2 separate regions of the Homo sapiens genome follow, and region 2 is linked to region 1. Evidence: promoter capture Hi-C in 16 types of primary human blood cells and fetal thymus (Javierre and others, 2016). All regions are on one chromosome and are shown on one strand. The core of a region is centred on a gene start or on the middle of the fragment in contact, and the rest is flanking DNA. Distances in the headings are between cores, read along the strand shown. Region 1 holds the start of SH3BP5L (SH3 binding domain protein 5 like). Region 2 overlaps CNST (consortin, connexin sorting protein).

What was found. Contacts are between HindIII fragments. The CHiCAGO score rates a contact against its expected background, and 5 or more counts as called.
Region 2: a contact is called between a fragment that was not itself captured here and the fragment with the promoter of SH3BP5L in region 1, in 2 of 17 cell types (neutrophils and fetal thymus). The highest score is 7.4, in neutrophils.

Annotation. Positions count from the first base shown.
Region 1 is chr1:248,823,125-248,828,079 of GRCh38, reverse strand. SH3BP5L (SH3 binding domain protein 5 like) reads left to right here and starts at 2,165. Exons shown (of 7, transcript NM_030645.3): 1 at 2,165-2,245; 2 at 2,714-3,327. The coding sequence starts at 3,145. It overlaps MIR3124 (microRNA 3124), which reads right to left and starts at 1,703; the gene lies at 1,637-1,703. RefSeq lists enhancers at 1,474-1,573, 1,644-1,693, 1,269-1,819, 1,804-2,063, 1,820-2,371 and 1 more. The HindIII fragment of the contact is 10,505 bases long and covers 1-3,570 here.
Region 2 is chr1:246,567,931-246,572,885 of GRCh38, reverse strand. All of the region lies in intron 1 of CNST (consortin, connexin sorting protein), which reads right to left. Among named protein-coding and RNA genes, the nearest start is that of CNST, 4.0 kb to the right of the region's middle. The HindIII fragment of the contact is 6,551 bases long and covers 1-4,955 here.

The DNA.
Region 1 (4,955 bases), core at 916-3,415:
TAATAATAAAAAGGACTGTGGTAGAAGACTGAGGCATTATTATCCATCAAAGCTGTCCACTTAGACAATGTTACTCAAGGTCCTGCTGACTTATTGAAATTAGAAAAATCACTTTTGTAATTTTAAAAACAAAACCTCCAATTTAATGGAAAAATCTGTTTTCAATCACCTCTTTTAAAGGAATATATTTTGCTCTGCTCAATTTAAAAAAATCGTTATTCATGGGATGAAGGGATAGAAGAAATGGACTGAGAACTGTAGAACTCTTGGCACATGACTCCATCCAAACCTCTGAGTTACTAAGAGACAAACTTTAGCATGCCTTCTAGCAGTGTCAGATCATGTCCCTAGGAGAACCCCAGCTCCCCCATGAAAATGCCTGCCTGAGAAAGCTCAATGCTACCAGGAGAATTTACTATTTGTTCTAGCCAACACCTGATGATAGGCTCCTGACCTCCCTTTCTCAGGGCGTTTATTAAGGGCTTACCATTATGAATCCTTCCTTCTTCTCTTTAAGGTGTTTATGCGTCTGCTACAACTCAAGAGGTCCTTCTAAAGGACCTGAGAGCCATTCCTTTGAAATTGATCGTCAAGAAGGGCAGAGCCTCTACCTCCCAATCTCAGTGCAAGAATAGCAAGCTAGGCTGGGCGTGGTGGCTCACGCCTCTAATCCTAGCACTTTGGGATGCCCAGGCGGGTGGATCACCTGAGGTCAGGAGTTCGAGACCAGCCTGGCCAACGTGGCGAAACCCCGTCTCTACTAAAAATAGAAAAATTAGCCAGATGTGTTGGCATGCACCTGTAATCCCAGCTACTCGGGAGGCTGAGGCAGGAGAATCTCTTGTACTCGGGGGTGGGGGTGGGGCGGAGGTTGCAGTGAGCCAAGATCGCGCCATTGCACTCCAGCCTGGGCAACAAGAGTTAAACTCCGTCTCAAAATAAATAAATACATAAAAAAGCACTCTAACTTCTATAGCTGCTAGCTAGCAGACACATCTGGCCGAATCGCATCTATGCCAATCAAATCTGTAATTTTTCACTTCTCCAACACTATTGAGCCCTGATCACCTTCCTTCCTTCATTCTCCCTTTGAAATGCCCAGTCACTTCTGTACAAATCGGAACAGAGGTCAGTTCTTTTCCTTTCTGTAAGTAGTTACTGAAAAAAGTCTTTTTCACTGCTTCAATGTCTAGCTGGGTTGTCTTTGACAGGATCCAAAAAGGAGGGGAATTCAGCCCATTTGCCTTTTCCATCTGCAGGGCAAAGTTTTGAGTTGACTCTGAGGAAGTTACGCCTTTTGTAAAAACAAAACATCCAACCCTGAATGAAGCCCTTCCCCTTAGGCCTAGGCCCTCCCCTCACCAAGCGACACCTAGAGGTGACAAGCAGGCGCTCGCTCAGGGACCTAGGTAACGATACACAATGCCATGTAACAAACTCCTGCTCATCGAGGGCATCTGACCCTGGGTGCACGAGTGAATTAACTGAGTTAATGTTGACTAAGTTCCTGGTTAGTATTCACGGAGCAATTGGTGACCCCACCAAAACGTCGTTCAAGGTGCAAGGTCCAGAGGCCTCGAGGAGTGGGATTTACACATCGGAGCCGTCCGCTCAGACGCCGTTAGTGGAGGGTTCCGCCGACTTCACGGGAGTGAGGAAAGTCACTTTTGGAAATCGACTTTGCCTTCGCCCGCGAAGCCCGCCAGCGTCCGGACTCGAGTTGCCCCCGGAGCCACTGCCGGAAGTTTACCAGCTCACTTTCGGCGTCGCGCCCGCCTCCGTGGAGCAGGCCGGAAGTGGCTTTCCGGCAGCCGCCGCCGCAGCTCCGTAAAGCAAGATGGCACTACTCACTCTGAGGCTATTATCTCCGTTTTATATCTAGTATTCCTCTTCTCACCAGTTACTCTCGATTTCCGTCCCGCGCCCTAATTTTCTTCAGCACCACATTCTCATGTTTTTCTTTCATTCAGCCTTGGTGGAGTATGGTCTGGAGGCAACCTACGGCTAGCCTGAGCAACGTGGGGCACCATTTTGTACGGAAACTGAAGGCAGGGCGGGGGAGTGTGAGGCCTCCCGAGGAGGCCCGGCTTGAGAGAGAGCGTGGGAGGGAGAGCGTTGTTCACCGATGATGTATTTCCGCTTCTGGTCTGCCTGGTCGTTTTTGGTTGGATCGGCTTGTTGCGGGGAGGGAGGGGGGGAGATTGTTTGCAGCATAGAAGCTCCGCGGACGGGAAGGTAAACTGAGGTAAGGCTGTGCGGGGGGCTTTTGCGCATGGCTGGGTAGAATGGACGGGAGTAGGGTCCTTGGGATTGCGGAAGAGTGTGGAATTGGAGACGGGAGGCTTAGATGTCTCGGGTTGGACAGAGAAGGTGGGGTGGGGCTCGGGGTTACAAGGTGAATCGCAAAGCCGGGCTGGGGTGGAGTGGGACGAGCGGGAGACCACAGGAGATGGAGGAGAGCCTAGGGGTGCAGAGGAAAGTCTCGAAGGCGCTGGTTGAGGAGGGCCTGGGTCGAGAGGAGCTGGGACGGGGGAAGAGTAGAATCTAAAGTCCTTGAGGGCTAAGGAGAGAAGTTGAGGTAGGGACTGGTCGGAATACATGGGTGGGGGCGTGGTGAGAGTGTAGTTTTTGGGAGGCTGTAGAGTTGGAAGGGGCTGGTGGCTGCGGTTTTGATGCTGACATGACCATATACTTGGCCTTTGTTTCTCTGCAGCTCCCCAGAGACGCTCATCCTACAGCCTCAGCTCGGGCCCAGCCTTCTCTCTCCAGCTGCCACCACAGCCTGGAGGCGCCTGCCTCCACCCTCCCGAATGGTGCTCCTCCTAGCAGGCCTCGGTCCAGGATCCAAGCCCCCTTTGCCCCCTGCCTTGGAGCTGTTGCTCCGGGTTTGTCACAGTGGACTCCCTGTGGCGGGAAGGGAAGAACTTTTGCACAGACAAGGCTTCAGCTCTAGGAACCCCACTGACAACTTGAATCTCAACCTCTAACCTAGTGTGAGGTTCTTCCTGTGCCCACCTTTTCTGCCTTTTGAGAAGAGAAACTCTTCTCCTGGCCATCTAGAGCCCAGGAAGCCCCAAGCTGGGGCCCTGGTCCCAGCATGTCAGTCCTCTCTTGTGCATAGGGCTCTGCCCTCCCCCTGTCAGCATGGCTGAGCTCAGACAGGTTCCAGGAGGGCGGGAGACCCCACAGGGGGAGCTGCGGCCTGAAGTTGTAGAGGATGAAGTCCCTAGGAGCCCAGTCGCAGAAGAGCCTGGAGGAGGTGGAAGCAGCAGCAGTGAGGCCAAATTGTCCCCAAGAGAGGAGGAAGAACTGGATCCTAGAATACAGGTGAGAGCACTGAGAGCAGGGAGAGAAGGAGAGCCCAGATTCCAGCCTCCCTGAAGAGTGTTGGATGAATGAGGGCTTAGACTTACTCTGTCCCCAGTCTGCTGGGGCAGGAAAGGAGAACAAGTTTGTCAACAAATCATTGCAGGGTAATGTAACAAGTTCCAAAAGAGTTGTGTGTCTGAAGTGCTGATGGAGTGCAGAGAAAGGCCTGGCCTTAGTGCTTGGGAGGCATTGCTGAAAGCTTCACTGAAGGAGCAAAGTGTCACTTGGCAGTAGATGGAGGAGGCACACTTTAGGTCAGTGGAGGGTAGGTGTGTTGTACTTCTTTCCAGATAAGCAGAGGGGCTGCCACCTTAGTTAGGGATGCTGTGTGAGAGGAGATGACTTTGATACTGGGGGACAGTTTTGAGGCTGAGTGAGAGAATCTTTTCCCCTTTCTCACCTTCTCAGCGGTACCTTCCAGGGATGTGCGGCCCACATTGCTCTGATAATGTGTTTCACCCTTGTAAACAGTGAGACCTTTCCAGTGTTATAAAGGTAGCATCAACTTTAGATCTATAAAGAAACCCCATATGTTCAAGGATTTGTAACTTTTGTTGTGGCCAATCCTTAGTAACATACATACCTGGCCCTCAGGATAGTGGGTCTCCTAAAGGAATGGAAGAGCAGTTTATTGCCTTGGAGTGTCTACAATCTAGTTGGTAGGACAGGCAGATCTTTGTGTAGGAGACCTGGGGGTAGTCAGTGAGGAAGACCAACTCCATGTGGAAGAGATGCCTGGCCAATCAAAGCTGGGTTGCAGTGTTTCAGGGAATTGGCTGAGAATGACTTCCTGAGGAAGCTTCTTGGGCAGGTGACGACCAGGATGCTCCTGCATGTTTGGGGCTTGAGTCTGCCATTTGTTCCGGTCACATCTCCAAGACTCTGATGTTGTGGAAGTGACTCTTCTGTAGGTGAGCAAGAACATATGAAGGCTCAAATTCCTAGGCTTATCTGTCAGCAAACCTTTATTGGATTACTCCAGTGAGTTGGGAAGAAATCAAAGCCAGTCCTGGCATTCTTCCTTCACTCTCTGTGTGGGTTCCTGGGATATGTGTGTGTGTGTGGGTTCCTCTTCTACTGTGTCCATGCTTATAATGGAGCAGTGGTGAGCCATTTGTTTCTGGCATGAGTCAGTAATTTATTTCTGCTCTGCCTGACATTGCATTGAAAACAGCCAATTTTTCTTGCTATTTCTACAGATTTATCATCCTCTGAGGAAATCAGTTGTAGTGAAAAAAGTCTTGGGCTGAGTTTCACGCTACCTCCAACCCCATGATTTATGATTTTTATGGAAGTTTCTTTACGTTTCTGAGCCTCAGTTTCTTCATCTGTAAAGTGAGCAGTTGGTCTAGCTGATTTGCACAACTCATTCTTGCTCTGCTCTGACACAAGTCTACAGTTCTTTCTCAAACTCTTTTTGCTTGTTCCTTGGTGATAGTTTGTAGATAGCACTTTGGGAAAGAGCTGTCTCTCTGTTGCTTGTGGAGGAGGGCTGTGTAATGTGCATTATATGCCTCCCTACAGCCTTCCTTGCCCTGCTCCAGAGAAGGCTTCTGCAGAGGAGAATCCACTGTGGTCTCTTTACT
Region 2 (4,955 bases), core at 1,150-3,649, 2.3 Mb after region 1:
ATGAGGTAAAAACAAATAACTCAGGCCTGGTGCAGTGACTCACACCTGTAATCCCAGCACTTTGAGAGGCTGAAGTAGGCACTCTGCTCGAGCTCAGGAGTTCAAGACCACCCTAGGCAACATGGCGAAACCCTGCTTCTATTTTTCTAAAAAATTAATAATTAAAAAAACCACATATCACACACATAAATAAATAACTCCACTATTTATTATTCAATAAATAAAACATACATTTGGCTGGGAGTGGTGGCTCACGTCTATAATCCCAGTATTTTGGGAAGTCAAGGCAGGAGGATCACTTGAGCCCAGGAGTTCAGGACTAGCCTGGGCAAAACAGTGAGATCTCATCTCTAAATAACAAACCACACACATTTTCACAAAAATCCTTATTGAAAAATCTTAGGCAATGTTTTTCAGTTCATCTAAAAATTATTTTTAAGATTTAGTTGTATACTGGGAATAAAAGCTGCAGAAGAGAAAAATAATGAACAAGGACAATGCATACAAAAAATCAAAATATAAGCAGTATACTATCAAATACTCAAGGACAGCAGCATTTGATCTTATAAAGTTCCCAAATTTTTTAATAACTTATTTCAAAATCTATAATATAAAAAAGTATTTAATTCATTTATGTATGTATTTTTGAGACAGGGTCTTACTCTGTCACCCAGGCTGGAGTGCAGAGCACAGTGGTGCAGTCATGCTTCACTGCAGCCTTGACCTCCTGTGCTTAGGTGATCCTCCCACCTCAGCCTCCAGAGTAGCTAGGACTACAGGCGTGAGTCCCAGGCATGGCTGTGACTGGCCAAAAACCATTTTTAAAGGTTACTTTACCTTCATTCAAATTAGAAAACCACAGTCACCTAATTCACTGAGTTTTCAAAATGCAGCTAAGGTAGAAAAAATATGTGATTATTTAATCAGGTAGTGGCTCTCCAGAAAAAAACAGGGCAATTATTCTCATAAGAAAATTTAATACATATGCCAATTGCAAAATAATGTTAATTTCTATAATTGCCTAGATACTGTCAATTTAAATATCAAATGCCCAAATGTCAATGAAGGGTGACTAACCAGACAGTGTGGCACATGCCTATAGCCCCAGCTCAGGAGGCTACAGCAGGAGGATCACTTGAGCCCAGGAGTTCAAGGCTAATCTGGGCAACATAGTGAGACCTCATCTCTAAAATAAGTAAATAAATATGACAAAATTTACCATTTACTGTTTCAGAATTTTTCTTAATCTAAAAGGAAAAATCATCTTGATTTGTCAGTATTTTCATAGGCACACACTGTCTTTCCTTTCCACGTGGCTAATGATGATGAAAAACAGGAAGTCCTAAGAGACGGAAGGGTGGAGGGTATAATGGCAAAAAGTTTCCATCTCCAAAATGTTAAAGAGCAGGATCTCAAAACTAAGATAAAAACCATTTGGCCTGGCACAGTGGCTCACGCCTTTAATCCCAGCACTTTGGGAGGCTGAGGTGGGCGGATCACTTGAGGTCAGGAGTTTGAAACCAGCCTGGCCAACATAGTGAAACCCTGTCTCTACTAAAAATACAAAAAATTAGCTGGGTGTGGTGGCACACGCCTGTAATCTCAGCTACTTGGGAGGCTGAGGCAGGAGAATCACTTGAACCCAGGAGGTGGAGGTTGCAGTGAGCTGAGATCTCGTACCACTGCACTCCACCCTGGGCGACAGAGCAAGACTGTCTCAAAAAGGATAAAAACAATTTAAGAAATCTCAAGCTATTATAAGACTTCAGAATTCTGCTAATGATGTGTTCTTTAACGAATATTACAAACAATTATTTCAAATGCTTAAAAAACAAAATTATTCCCTGAGAGGATATATAATTTCCCCCATGAGAATGATTCCTACATAAAGGAAAGCCTGTATTCATGTGAATCTTGAAGGCCCTAAACTGGAAAGGTTACATAACAGTATCAAGACATACATATATTAAGTTAGAATTTCTCATTAAGCATATAATGCTTTTAAAGCCCAGTTAAACCTTATCAGGGCTTTTTAAAAACTGAAGATTACTGCACTATCAATTACTCTTCCTAAAATAACTACAATAAATTTGCTAAGACTCACTTGTAGAAACCAAGCAATGTATTTTCTCTTATCCAACTAAAAGGGTGCCAATAAACAGCTATCTAGTTTTAAATACAAACAAAAAACATTATTATTTTCTTATAGAACATCCACACATCTCTCACAGAACAAGTAACATCCAGTAACTATACCCCTTCCCCAATTCTGTCTTTGATCCTCTAACACTCCCCATAGTCCCTACATTGTGCCAGGTCTATCATGACTATATTTGACAGAGGGAGTTTGTTCACTGACCAGGTAATTTAAAATTTCTTCATACTATAAAGGTTGAGAAGAGGGCATGTTTCCTGTATTAAATTACACTGAATATTAATTAGGCCTTCAGGCTAATTTAGCTATTAATGTAGATATAACACACAGCAGCTAAAGTAGTATTTAGGGAAGTTTATTAGAGCACAGAGGTCAAGACAGGAACAATGATGGGTCTGACTGATCCCCATGGAGGTTAACTGGCTTTAGAGTTACCTTTGTTACAGCAGCTCTGAACCACTGACGGTTCTACGTAAATCACCACCCTTGTTGCAAAAACAACTTGAAGCACGTATGGAGACAGTATGTCAGTTGCTTTATATAAAAACTGCCATCTTTCCTTTTAAATTCCCCTAAACCACCATACACAAGTTAATCTTTTACTTTACTCAGGCTCCCAGCATTCTACAGCCATAAAACCTACTCTCTTCCTTTCTAAATTTTGCTCAAAGATTTGATCTTTCCCTTGGTAAGAAACACCATGATATAAAGAAGCACATTTATAAAACTCTTAGCCTTACCTGAAACTGACTCAGAAAATAACTCTGCAACAACAGGTACTCTACCTGTTCACAATAAAGTTCAATCTTCTTGAAGGTCCTCAAGTTCTCCCTACAATTTAGTCGACAGAAACTCATACTGTGCCTTGACACACTGTTGACGTGCAGATGTAAATAACTAGTAACAATGACACGCCAGGAAATGACTGAACACTATTCATCTTATGAGCCTCATTAAACAAGCATGGGGCTCAACGTTAACACAGTCAACACTAAGAGAAAGAGGCTGGGCATGGTGGCTACGCCTGTAATCTCAACACTTTGAGAGGTTGAGGTGGATCATTTGATCCCAGGAGTTCAGGGCTCCGGGACTGCCACTGCACTCCAGCCTGGGCAATAGAATGAGAATCTGTCTCAAAACAAACAAAACAAAACAAAAACACTAAAAGGAAGAGACTTAGAACTCTCTTCCTGCATAGAAACTTCTCAAATTAAATACCGCAGTACTTCAGGAAGAGGAGTTTTTAATTTACCCCACAGAATCAGACTCTCAGTGTAGGAAGACAGCTTAAAAATCATGTGACCATCCTATCATTTGTGCTGCTCAGTAAGGTAACATTTAGCTACATGTGACTGTTGAGCACTTGAAATGTGGCTTCTCCAAACTGAGATGTGCTGTAAGTATAAAATACCAGATTTTATAGATTTAGTATCAAATAATGTAAAATATCTCATTTTAAAAATTGATTTCATGTTAAAATAACATATATAAGATTAAATAAAATATACTACTAAAATTTTACCTGTTTCTTTTTACTTTCTTAATACCACTACTAGAAAATTTTAAATTACTTATATGGCTTGCATTGTATTTCTATTGAAGACTGCTGCTACAGACCTACAGCCTTAATTCTAACAGCAAGCAAGGACTATCACTTGGCATTTCCCAATTACAGTTGTCATTTAAAAGCCAAAAGAGGCTGGGTGTGGTGGCTCATGCCTGTAATACCAGTGTTTTGGGAGGCTGAGGTGGGAGGATTGCATGAGGCCAGGAATTTGAGACCAGCCTGGGCAACATAGCAAAACTCCGCCTTCACAAATAAATAAATATATTTAAATGTAAAAAGCAAGAAAAAAAGTATTTTAAAGGCGTGGTGGCTCACGCCTGTAATCCCAGCACTTTGAGAGGTGGAGGTCGGAGGATCACCTGAGGTCAAGACCACCCTGGCCAACATGGCGAAACTCCGTCTCTACTAAAAATACAAAAATTAGCTGGACATAGTAGCAGGAGCCTGTAATCCCAGCTACTCGGGAGGCTGAAGCAGGAGAAACTGCTTGAACCCGAAAAGCGGAGGTTGCAGTGAACCGAGATGGCACCAGCCTAGGCGACAGAGTAGACTCCATCTCAAAATTACTTCAAAAAGGCAAAAACAGCATAGGATAGAAAACCACACTTCTTAAGAAAAAAGATGGGAAATACTGCACACTAATCAAGTTTTTCTAATAAAGTATGTCTAAATCCTGATCATAAAGTTCATCTTTAAGGTGAAATCAACATTCTCAGCACCTGGGACCTCAGAAAAAAAATAAGATGTACAAAAATCTCTTATTATTCAAGTACCTTCAATTACAAACAAGTGAACCATCAACACTGTAAAAAGGGAATATTATAATGTAATTCTCTTTCCCAAAACCAAGAGAAAATAATAACACTCAAAAGCAAAATAAAAAATGACATCAGTTTTTCTAGGACTCAGTAGGCTAACTTTGGTCCACAAACATTATGAAATAAGACAGTGCATTTTAAAATAACTGTTTTGTTTTTAACCACAATGTGTTTATTTTTCTTTTTCTCTTTTTCTTTCTTTCTTTTTTTTTAAGGAGACAGAGTCTATGTTGCCCAGTCTGGCTTCGAACTCCCGGCAGCAAGTGATCCTCCCACCTTGGCCTCCCAAAGTGCTGGGATTACAGGCATGAACTACCATACCCAGCCACCACAGTGTTTTTTTTAAAAAGTCAGAAATTCAACGACACATTTCTATGAGTGAACCATGAAGACATAATTCTATTTTATCTGATTT